Linked DNA regions of Homo sapiens: regions 1 and 3 are each linked to region 2. The links are contacts of gene promoters, found by promoter capture Hi-C in blood cells and fetal thymus (Javierre and others, 2016). All regions are on one chromosome and are shown on one strand. Each heading gives the region's core, a stretch centred on a gene start or on the middle of the fragment in contact. The rest is flanking DNA. Distances are from core to core; before and after follow the strand shown.

What was found. Contacts are between HindIII fragments. The CHiCAGO score rates a contact against its expected background, and 5 or more counts as called.
Region 1: a contact is called between the fragment with the promoter of RABGAP1 here and the fragment with the promoter of NDUFA8 in region 2, in 3 of 17 cell types (total CD4 T cells, naive CD4 T cells and non-activated CD4 T cells). The highest score is 10.5, in total CD4 T cells.
Region 3: a contact is called between a fragment that was not itself captured here and the fragment with the promoter of NDUFA8 in region 2, in 1 of 17 cell types (naive CD8 T cells). The highest score is 5.9, in naive CD8 T cells.

What each region holds. Positions count from the first base shown.
Region 1 is chr9:122,939,625-122,942,367 of GRCh38, forward strand. RABGAP1 (RAB GTPase activating protein 1) reads left to right here and starts at 1,396. Exons shown (of 26, transcript NM_012197.4): 1 at 1,396-1,469. LOC105379839 (a long non-coding RNA gene) reads right to left here and starts at 1,624. Exons shown (of 2, transcript XR_001746924.3): 1 at 1,515-1,624; 2 at 952-1,311. RefSeq lists enhancers at 936-1,005, 1,195-1,919 and silencers at 1,166-1,325, 1,336-1,665. The HindIII fragment of the contact is 5,356 bases long and covers 1-2,633 here.
Region 2 is chr9:122,158,427-122,161,129 of GRCh38, forward strand. NDUFA8 (NADH:ubiquinone oxidoreductase subunit A8) reads right to left here and starts at 1,353. Exons shown (of 4, transcript NM_014222.3): 1 at 1,201-1,353. The coding sequence starts at 1,251. It overlaps MORN5 (MORN repeat containing 5), which reads left to right and starts at 1,482. Exons shown (of 5, transcript NM_198469.4): 1 at 1,482-1,593. The coding sequence starts at 1,547. RefSeq lists an enhancer at 1,264-1,558. The HindIII fragment of the contact is 8,418 bases long and covers 1-2,703 here.
Region 3 is chr9:122,851,206-122,853,905 of GRCh38, forward strand. RC3H2 (ring finger and CCCH-type domains 2) reads right to left here. Exons shown (of 21, transcript NM_001100588.3): 19 at 118-231; 20 at 1-24. Among named protein-coding and RNA genes, the nearest start is that of PDCL, 24 kb to the left of the region's middle. RefSeq lists an enhancer at 157-932. The HindIII fragment of the contact is 6,549 bases long and covers 1-2,700 here.

The sequences.
Region 1 (2,743 bases), core at 146-2,645, 780 kb after region 2:
CCATGAATCAAGAAATACATGAAAGTATGGGCACCAAAACGTTAAAAGTGGTTTTGTTGGGAGTTCAGGGGATTTTACTTTCTCCCTAATACTTTATTCTTTGAATATCTTGAAATGGATATTTTGTAACTGTATAAGGAGAAAGGAAGCGAAACTATTTTTCTGCAGGGGTACACCCACATCTATTGTATTAGACAAATCACAGAGGGATTGCAACAGAACACAGATTTTTCTCACTGTTTTTTCTCTGGTTGATCGGGATGCATTATCCACCAGAAAACACTGTAGACGACTCACTCACCAGGAAAAGAGCATATGCCAGTTGGAATAAATAAAGGGGAAGAGTAAGGAAGAGGCTGTAGAATTATTTTATAAATTATCAAGTCTTATGAGCCAGGTGCAGTGGTGCATGCCTATGTACAGTCCCAGCTACTCAGGAGGCTGAGGTGGTAGGATAGCTTGAGCCCAGGAGTTCGAGGGTGGAGTGTGATATGATCGTCTGTGAATAGCCACAGCACTGCATCCTGGACAAGATAGGGTCTCTTTAAAAATAAGACTTAACTAGCACTTTAATAATCATTGTTTTTGTTCCCAACTGCATTGTACATTCATTGAGGACAGGGACTTTAAACTTCATTATATTGCTGTTGCTGTGTTTCACCTTTGAATGATTTTTAAATAAAAATCTCATCTTTGAGTCACAATCTGATGTAACCTTGTCCATTTCTGTCCTCTTGTGTGCCTTAAATGCCTTTAGGCAGCTGTGTTGTACCAGTGGTTTTAGGACTTGGCAGTCGGAAGTTTTGACTTCTAGACTGGATTCTGTAACTAAAGCTAAATTACTTTATAAAAGGAGAAAAATGGTACCATTCTGACGGGTTTGTGGTGAAGCTGAAATGAGATAGCCACATAAAGAACCATCACAATCCCTGACACACCGTGCGCCCTCAGTAAATGCCAGGTGAATTTTATTACACTGTGAAGTACTGATTTTCAAACAGGACTTGCACATGAAAGGTGAGCAGGGGGATTCCTTGCTCAAGCACCAGTACTCTGGGGTTGTACCCTTTGTTAGGCTCAACAGGTACTACCCAGTCCGCTTCCATCGTCCCCAGTCCCGGCTGCAGTCACGTAGTTGGCTGTCCAACTCCAAATACACAAGACAGCCCAGGTCCAGCTCACAGCCAGTGCACTTCGCGCAGGCGCACAGTCCTGAGGCGGGCTGAAAGCCCAGGTGGGGCTCGGAGAAGAGGAAGCTCCGCCTCGCTTCCCGGTATTGGGCCAATAGGGTCGCTCGTCATGGTCGCAGACCTATGAGACGGGGCAGGGGGCGGGGCGGAGGGCGGAAGAAGTCGCTCTCACGTGAGTAAAGGGGTGGGGGGGCGGGGACAGGGCGGTTTGGGAGGCCCAGGCGGCGGAGCCTCCGGGACGGCGAGCGGCGGGCGGCGGAGGAGGAGACGGCAGGTCGGGTAGGGCCGTGTTTCCCCTCCTCCTCCTCCCACCCTCCTACCTACCAACCCCAGGGGTATTTTCCGACGGCCCCTGCGGGGAGCCAAGCTGTCTTCTCATCCCGCGGGGTCGGGCCAGTGGAGCTGCTCTCAGCTCCCTCGACGGGCCGAGTTCTGAGGGGAGCCGTGATTGGGGGGAGGGGGAACTGCGACGGAGGGGAGAGGGCGCATGCGCAGGCTGGGCCGCTCTGGGAGCCCCTGCCCAAACCGGTTCCCCCTGTCTGTGTGGGTGCCGGTCTTCTGAGTCTTGCGTTTTTGGCCCTCCCTCTGGTCCCCCAGCAAAGCCGGTTTGTGTCTTGACTTTAATGTTTTATGCTTGGTCCTATTTGGGAATCCAGCCGCTCCCCCCCGCCTCAGTTTCTCCCCATTGCTCACTAGGCCTGTATCTGTGACTTAAGCTAGCCTGGGCCTCAGGCTGTCCTGGGCTGCGCCTAAATTTCAAAGACTTGCTAGTTTTCACTGTCGCTTTGCCATCTCAGGTTGGTCTTTCAGTCTCATTTCCCCGTCTGCAATTAAAGCGTTCTTGGCATCCCAGTCTTCTCATCTCCTTGAAGCAGCTACCCCAGTACCTCATCGCTGTGTCTTTTGATTATCCGCACCCTTAGGGTTTTACGTGTTGAGCCAAAGGATAACCTCAAGACTTCCAGGAGTTCGCTGTCCATTGCCTGGTAGTACTTTGGTCTCTGCTCTTCTGCATCCAGACTGTTTATCATCTGCTCCTGCGTTTCACGCATCTGCATACCTTTGGTTACTCGAGAATTCTTTTTTGGAAACAAATGTCCTAGGAGACCGTGTTAAGTGATCATGCTGCTAGTGTTCCCGCTACTAGTGCTCCGTTAGTTTTAAATCATGTTCCAACTTGAATTTGAGGTCTTTTGACTTTCGTTGGCTTTTTGTCAGGGAAAAAAACCTGTTAGGGACAGGGTTTCACAATTCCTTTTATATTTCCATTCACATGTATTTACAAACGTGTGCCTGGAGTAGTAAGTACACAATAAGTGAGTTTCCAGCTGTTTTTGTTTCGGAAACAAAAAACAAAACAAAACAAAACAAAAAAACAACGGAAGGTGAATGGAATTGTGTTTGTAACATTAAACTGATGTTTGAAAAGTAGTTGGGAAAAAAAGCTTAGGTACTAAGGAGGGTTCATCCAACTTTTTTTTAAACGAAGGACGTGTTGCCTTAGTTCAAGTTTGTATAAGGTGCTATTTAATATGTATTGAAGACTTAACTAG
Region 2 (2,703 bases), core at 103-2,602:
ACCACCACTAGGGTCACATCAAACTGTACTTGGCTCCCTAAACACACAAGTTCTGCTAGGCCGTCTCATTCTTGTGAGTTTTCACCCATAATATAGTGGAAAAGCATTGGTTTTAAAATCAGACTTGGGTTCACTTCCAGCTCTATTACTTACGAGCTCCGTGACCTTGGGCAAATCATTTCTACTCTCGGGGACTAATTCCTTATTTATAACGCTACGACCAATTGTGTGTGTGTGTGTATATATATATATATGACCAATTGTGTGTGTGTATATATATATGGTATATACATATATATATATACACCAATTGTGTATATATATATATGGTATATATATATACACACCAATTGTGTGTGTGTATATATATGTGTATGTGTGTGTATATATATATATATCCTACCTTATAGTGTTGCTGGGAGGATTCAATGAATTAATGCATGGAAAGTAATTAGCATCCTGCCTGGTATCTAGAAAGGACTTGATCATGTTAGCTATAATTAGTAGGGTATGTTTCTACTTCACTCCTCACAGCACTAACTACATTGTACTGTGACTGCCTCTTTATGTGTCTGTCTCCCTACTGGATTGTAAAGTCCATGAAAGCACGAAGTATATCTCTTCCAGCGTTATGTGTACACGTTAATTACTGAAATGATATCTCTTGAATAAACGAATGCTTTAAATGGGTCCTGTTACCAAACACCTTCCCAAGGCTGTGAGTAGATGCACGCTCCAATATTGTCTCATTTTCCCGCGGCTTCGTCACCCCACTCTATGCACTCTGCACCGGTGATACCACTTTAAGGTAGATGACCGTCTCCCTCGACTGTGAGCCCCTAGGGTTGTATACTCACCTCGCATGCAAGTTTGAGGATTAAGCGACATAAGCTAAGTAAAATGACTGGTTGGTGCTTAATAAAATGTATCACTATTATTCACGGAAGGAGAAATAGGTCGCTGTGGAGGGCGAAAGGGGGAGGATTCTAGAGCCACTGCAAGATGCGACAGGGTGGGGTAGAGAGGGGAGGCGACTCCCAAAGCTGCGGAGGGGACCTCCGGGGGTCGACCTGTATATGCGTTGGAGGACTGGGGAGGGGGGCCCGGGTCCCAGGATCCGCGGAGCCCAAGGGGGGCTAGGCCCAGGCCCGAGAAGCCGCAGCCCCATGTCTCCCTTGCCTGTCCTCCGGATAGCCTCACCTCATCTACTTTCAGCTCCTCTAGAGTGGGCAGCTCCACTATCCCCGGCATGACGGCTGCAGCCCCGACCCCGACGAGAAGCCCTCAGCCGCGTCGCCCCCGTCTCCTTGAACTCCCCTTTCGACCGCCGAGTGCCACACGGCGCCTGCGCATGCGCATCCGGCAACACGCAGGCGTATTGCCCTGCCCAACCACGAGCGAGGGAGCGTGCGCAATACCAAGAACTTTTCAGCCTCCAGCGGGGTGGGGCTTCGATTCGGCTCCGCCCACCCCTCCAGGTTGTCATAGTGATGCCGTATCCACTGAGACTCCGGATCCTAACAGCTGGAAGCTAAAAACAGGCGCCATGGAGTACACAGGGAGCAAATATATCGGGGAATATGTAGATGGGAGGTAAGGGGCTCATTTGATTCACTTACTATACCTTGAATAGCTGTGACTGGAAAAAGACGGCTTTTTGCTTCTGCGAAACACCTTGTGCCAGGCACTTTCACAAACTTGCCCGAGTAATTTTTTCAAGGACCATATCTAATAAGCAGCAAAGCTAAGATGCATTCATTCCATATATACTTATATGTGTGTGTGCATTGACTGTGTGTGTGTGCTATCTGCCAGTTTTAAACATAGGAATAAGAATATTTAAAATGTCAAGATCCTTGCTCTTATGGAGTTTATAATCCAGTTGGAGATGTATTGCCAATAAACAAATAAGTGATAAAATAATTACAGATAATGGTAAATGCTATAAAAACAAACACGAAGATTAGGGAAGAGAGACTGGCTAATCTGAATCTACACGGTCGCTTCCTTCCAGGAGGAGTTCACGATCTAGGGATTATTATAGAGGATTATATACACAAATCACTGTAGTGGACTAGTAGTAAAAAACAATTCAACAGTTTTTTTTTCTTTTCTTTTCCTTCCTTCCTTCCTTCCTTTTTTCCTTCCTTCCTTCCTTCCTACCTTCCTCTCTTTCTTTCTTTCTCTCTCGTTTTTGTTTTATTTTCAGACAAGATCTCGCTCTGTTGCCCTGGCTGGAGTGCAGTGGCCTGTTCACTGCTTACTGCAGCCTCAACCCCCTAGGCTCAAACAATCTTCCCACCTCAGCCTCCCAAGTAGCTGAGACTACCGGTGTGCACCACTACCCCCAGCAAATTTTTCAACGCCTTTTGTAGAGACGGCATCTTGCTATGTTGTCCAAGCTGGTCTCATACTCCTGGGCTCAAGTGATCCTCTTGCATGAGCCACCGTGCCCAGCAATTCAACAATGTTGAGTGGCTACCGAGTACCAGGCCCTGTAATTGACTCTGGGCACAATCCCTGTCTTCAGAAAGTTCATTCAAACATGATGCGACAAGTAGACATAACAGATAACTGCGATTCAGTGTGGTAAGAGCTGTAGTAGAGAGAAGCAGAGGAAACACAGAGGTGGCCACTCTTTTTTGCCAACCACCCTGGATGAAGAAAGTGGAATCTCTGTTTTTATAGCTGAGGAAACCAAGG
Region 3 (2,700 bases), core at 186-2,685, 690 kb after region 2:
ACCAAGCTGTATGTCCAAGATCTCCTAAGAAAATAAAATGTTAATCCTTCAGTATGAAAGTATTTTATAAATTTTCAATCAAACAAAGCCTCTCAATTATCTAATTGTGGCACTTACTTCAATTGGTTCACTTTGTCCATCAGGTTCATCAGTATCAAGTGCTGAAAGCTCTAACTCGATATCCCTATCAGGTTTAGTATCTGTTGCATCTTCTGTATAATCACTCTGTAACTAAGAAAAATACTGATTTTGCTCTCCCTCTCCCTCTCCCTCTCCCCATGGTCTCCCTCTCCCCATGGTCTCCCTCTCCCTCTCTTTCCATGGTCTCCCTCTCATGCCGAGCCGAAGCTGGACTATACTGCTGCCATCTCGGCTCACTGCAACCTCCCTGCCTGATTCTCCTGCCTCAGCCTGCAGAGTGCCTGCAATTGCAGGCGCGCGCCGCCACGCCTGACTGGTTTTCGTATTTTTTTGGTGGAGACGGGGTTTCGCTGTGATGGCCGGGCTGGTCTCCAGCTCCTAACCACGAGTGATCTGCCAGCCTCGGCCTCCCGAGGTGCCGGGATTGCAGACGGAGTCTGGTTCACTCAGTGCTCAATGGCGCCCAGGCTGGAGTGCAGTGGCGTGATCTCGGCTCGCTACAACCTCCACCTCCCAGCCGCCTGCCTTGGCCTCCCAAAAAGCCGAGATTGCAGCCTCTGCCCGGCCGCCACCCCGTCTGGGAAGTGAGGAGCGTCTCTGCCTGGCCGCCCATCGTCTGGGATGTGAGGAGCCCCTCTGCCTGGCTGCCCAGTCTGGAAAGTGAGGACCGTCTCTGCCCGGCCGCCATCCCATCTGGGAAGTGAGGAGCGCCTCTTCCCGGCCGCCATCACATCTAGGAAGTGAGGAGCGTCTCTGCCCGGCCGCCCGTCGTCTGGGATGTGGGGAGCGCCTCTGCCCCGCCGCCCTGTCTGGGATGTGAGGAATGCCTCTGCCCGGCCGCCACCCCGTCTGGGAGGTGAGGAGCGTCTCTGCCCGGCCGCCCCGTCTGAGAAGTGAGGAGACCCTCCGCCCGGCAGCCGCCCCGTATGAGAAGTGAGGAGCCTCTCCGCCCGGCAGCCGCCCCGTCTGAGAAGTGAGGAGCCTCTCTGCCTGGCAGCCACCCCGTCTGGGAAGTGAGGAGCGTCTCCGCCCGGCAGCCGCCCCGTCCGGGAGGGAGGTGGGGGGGTCAGCCCCCCGCCTGGCCAGCCGCCCCGTCCGGGAGGTGAGGGGCGCCTCTGCCCGGCCGCCCCTACTGGGAAGTGAGGAGCCCCTCTGCCTAGCCAGCCGCCCCGTCCGGGAGGGAGGTGGGGGGGTCAGCCCCCCGCCCGGCCAGCCGCCCCGTCCGGGAGGGAGGTGTGGGGGTCAGCCCCCGGCCCGGCCAGCCGCCCTGACCGGGAGGGAGGTGGAGGGGTCAGCTCCCAACCCGGCCAGCCGCCCTGTCCGGGAGGTGAGGGGCGCCTCTGCCCTGCCGCCCCTACTGGGAAGTGAGGAGCCCCTCTGCCCGGCCAGCCGCCCCGTCCGGGAGGGAGGTGGGGGGGTCAGCCCCCCGCCTGGCCAGCCGCCCCATCCGGGAGGTGAGGGGCGCCTCTGCCCGGCCGCCCCTACTGGGAAGTGAGGAGCCCCTCTGCCCAGCCACCACCCCGTCTGGGAGGTGTGCCCAACAGCTCATTGAGAACGGGCCATGATGACAATGGCGGTTTTGTGGAATAGAAAGGGGGGAAAGGTGGGGAAAAGATTGAGAAATCGGATGGTAGCCGTGTCTGTGTAGAAAGAAGTAGACATGGGAGACTTTTCATTTTGTTCTGTACTAAGAAAAATTCTTCTGCCTTGGGATCCTGTTGATCTGTGACCTTACCTCCAACCCTGTGCTCTCTGAAACATGTGCTGTGTCCACTCAGAGTTAAATGGCTTAAGGGCGGTGCAAGATGTGCTTTGTTAAACAGATGCTTGAAGGCAGCATGCTCATTAAGAGTCATCACCACTCCCTAATCTCAAGTACCCAGGGACACAAACGCTGCGGAAGGCCGCAGGGTCCTCTGCCTAGGAAAACCAGAGACCTTTGTTCACTTGTTTATCTGCTGACCTTCCCTCCACTATTGTCCTATGACCCTGCCAAATCCCCCTCTGTGAGAAACACCCAAGAATGATCAATAAAAAAAAAAAAAAAAAAAGAAAAATACTGATTTTATACCTGTGGAACCTGGGGTTTCCCTTTTAAATTAAAGTAAAAAATCCCAATGATCAGCCAGGCACGGGGGCTCACACCTGTAATCCTAGCACTTTGGGAAGGTGAGGCGAGCAGATCACTTGAGGTCAGGAGTTCAAGACCAGCTTAGCCAACATGGTGAAACCCTGTCTCTACTAAAAACACAAAAATTAGCTGGGCATGGTGGTGGGTGCCTGTAATCCCAGCTACTCGGGAAGCTGAGGCAGGAGAATCGCTTGAACCTGAGAGCCAGAGGCTGCAGTGAGCCAAGATCGTGCCATTGCACTCCAGGCGATAGAGCAAGATTCCATCTCAAAAAAACAAAAATCCCGATGATCTAGTTAAAGAATTATTTAAGAAATCTGGGATTACAATTTTATTTCTGTTATAAGTTTTAAAAGCAATCAATCATCCATCAGAGATAGGCACACCAAAATGCACTCAGTAATGGTATAACCAAGATGCAGCAGCAG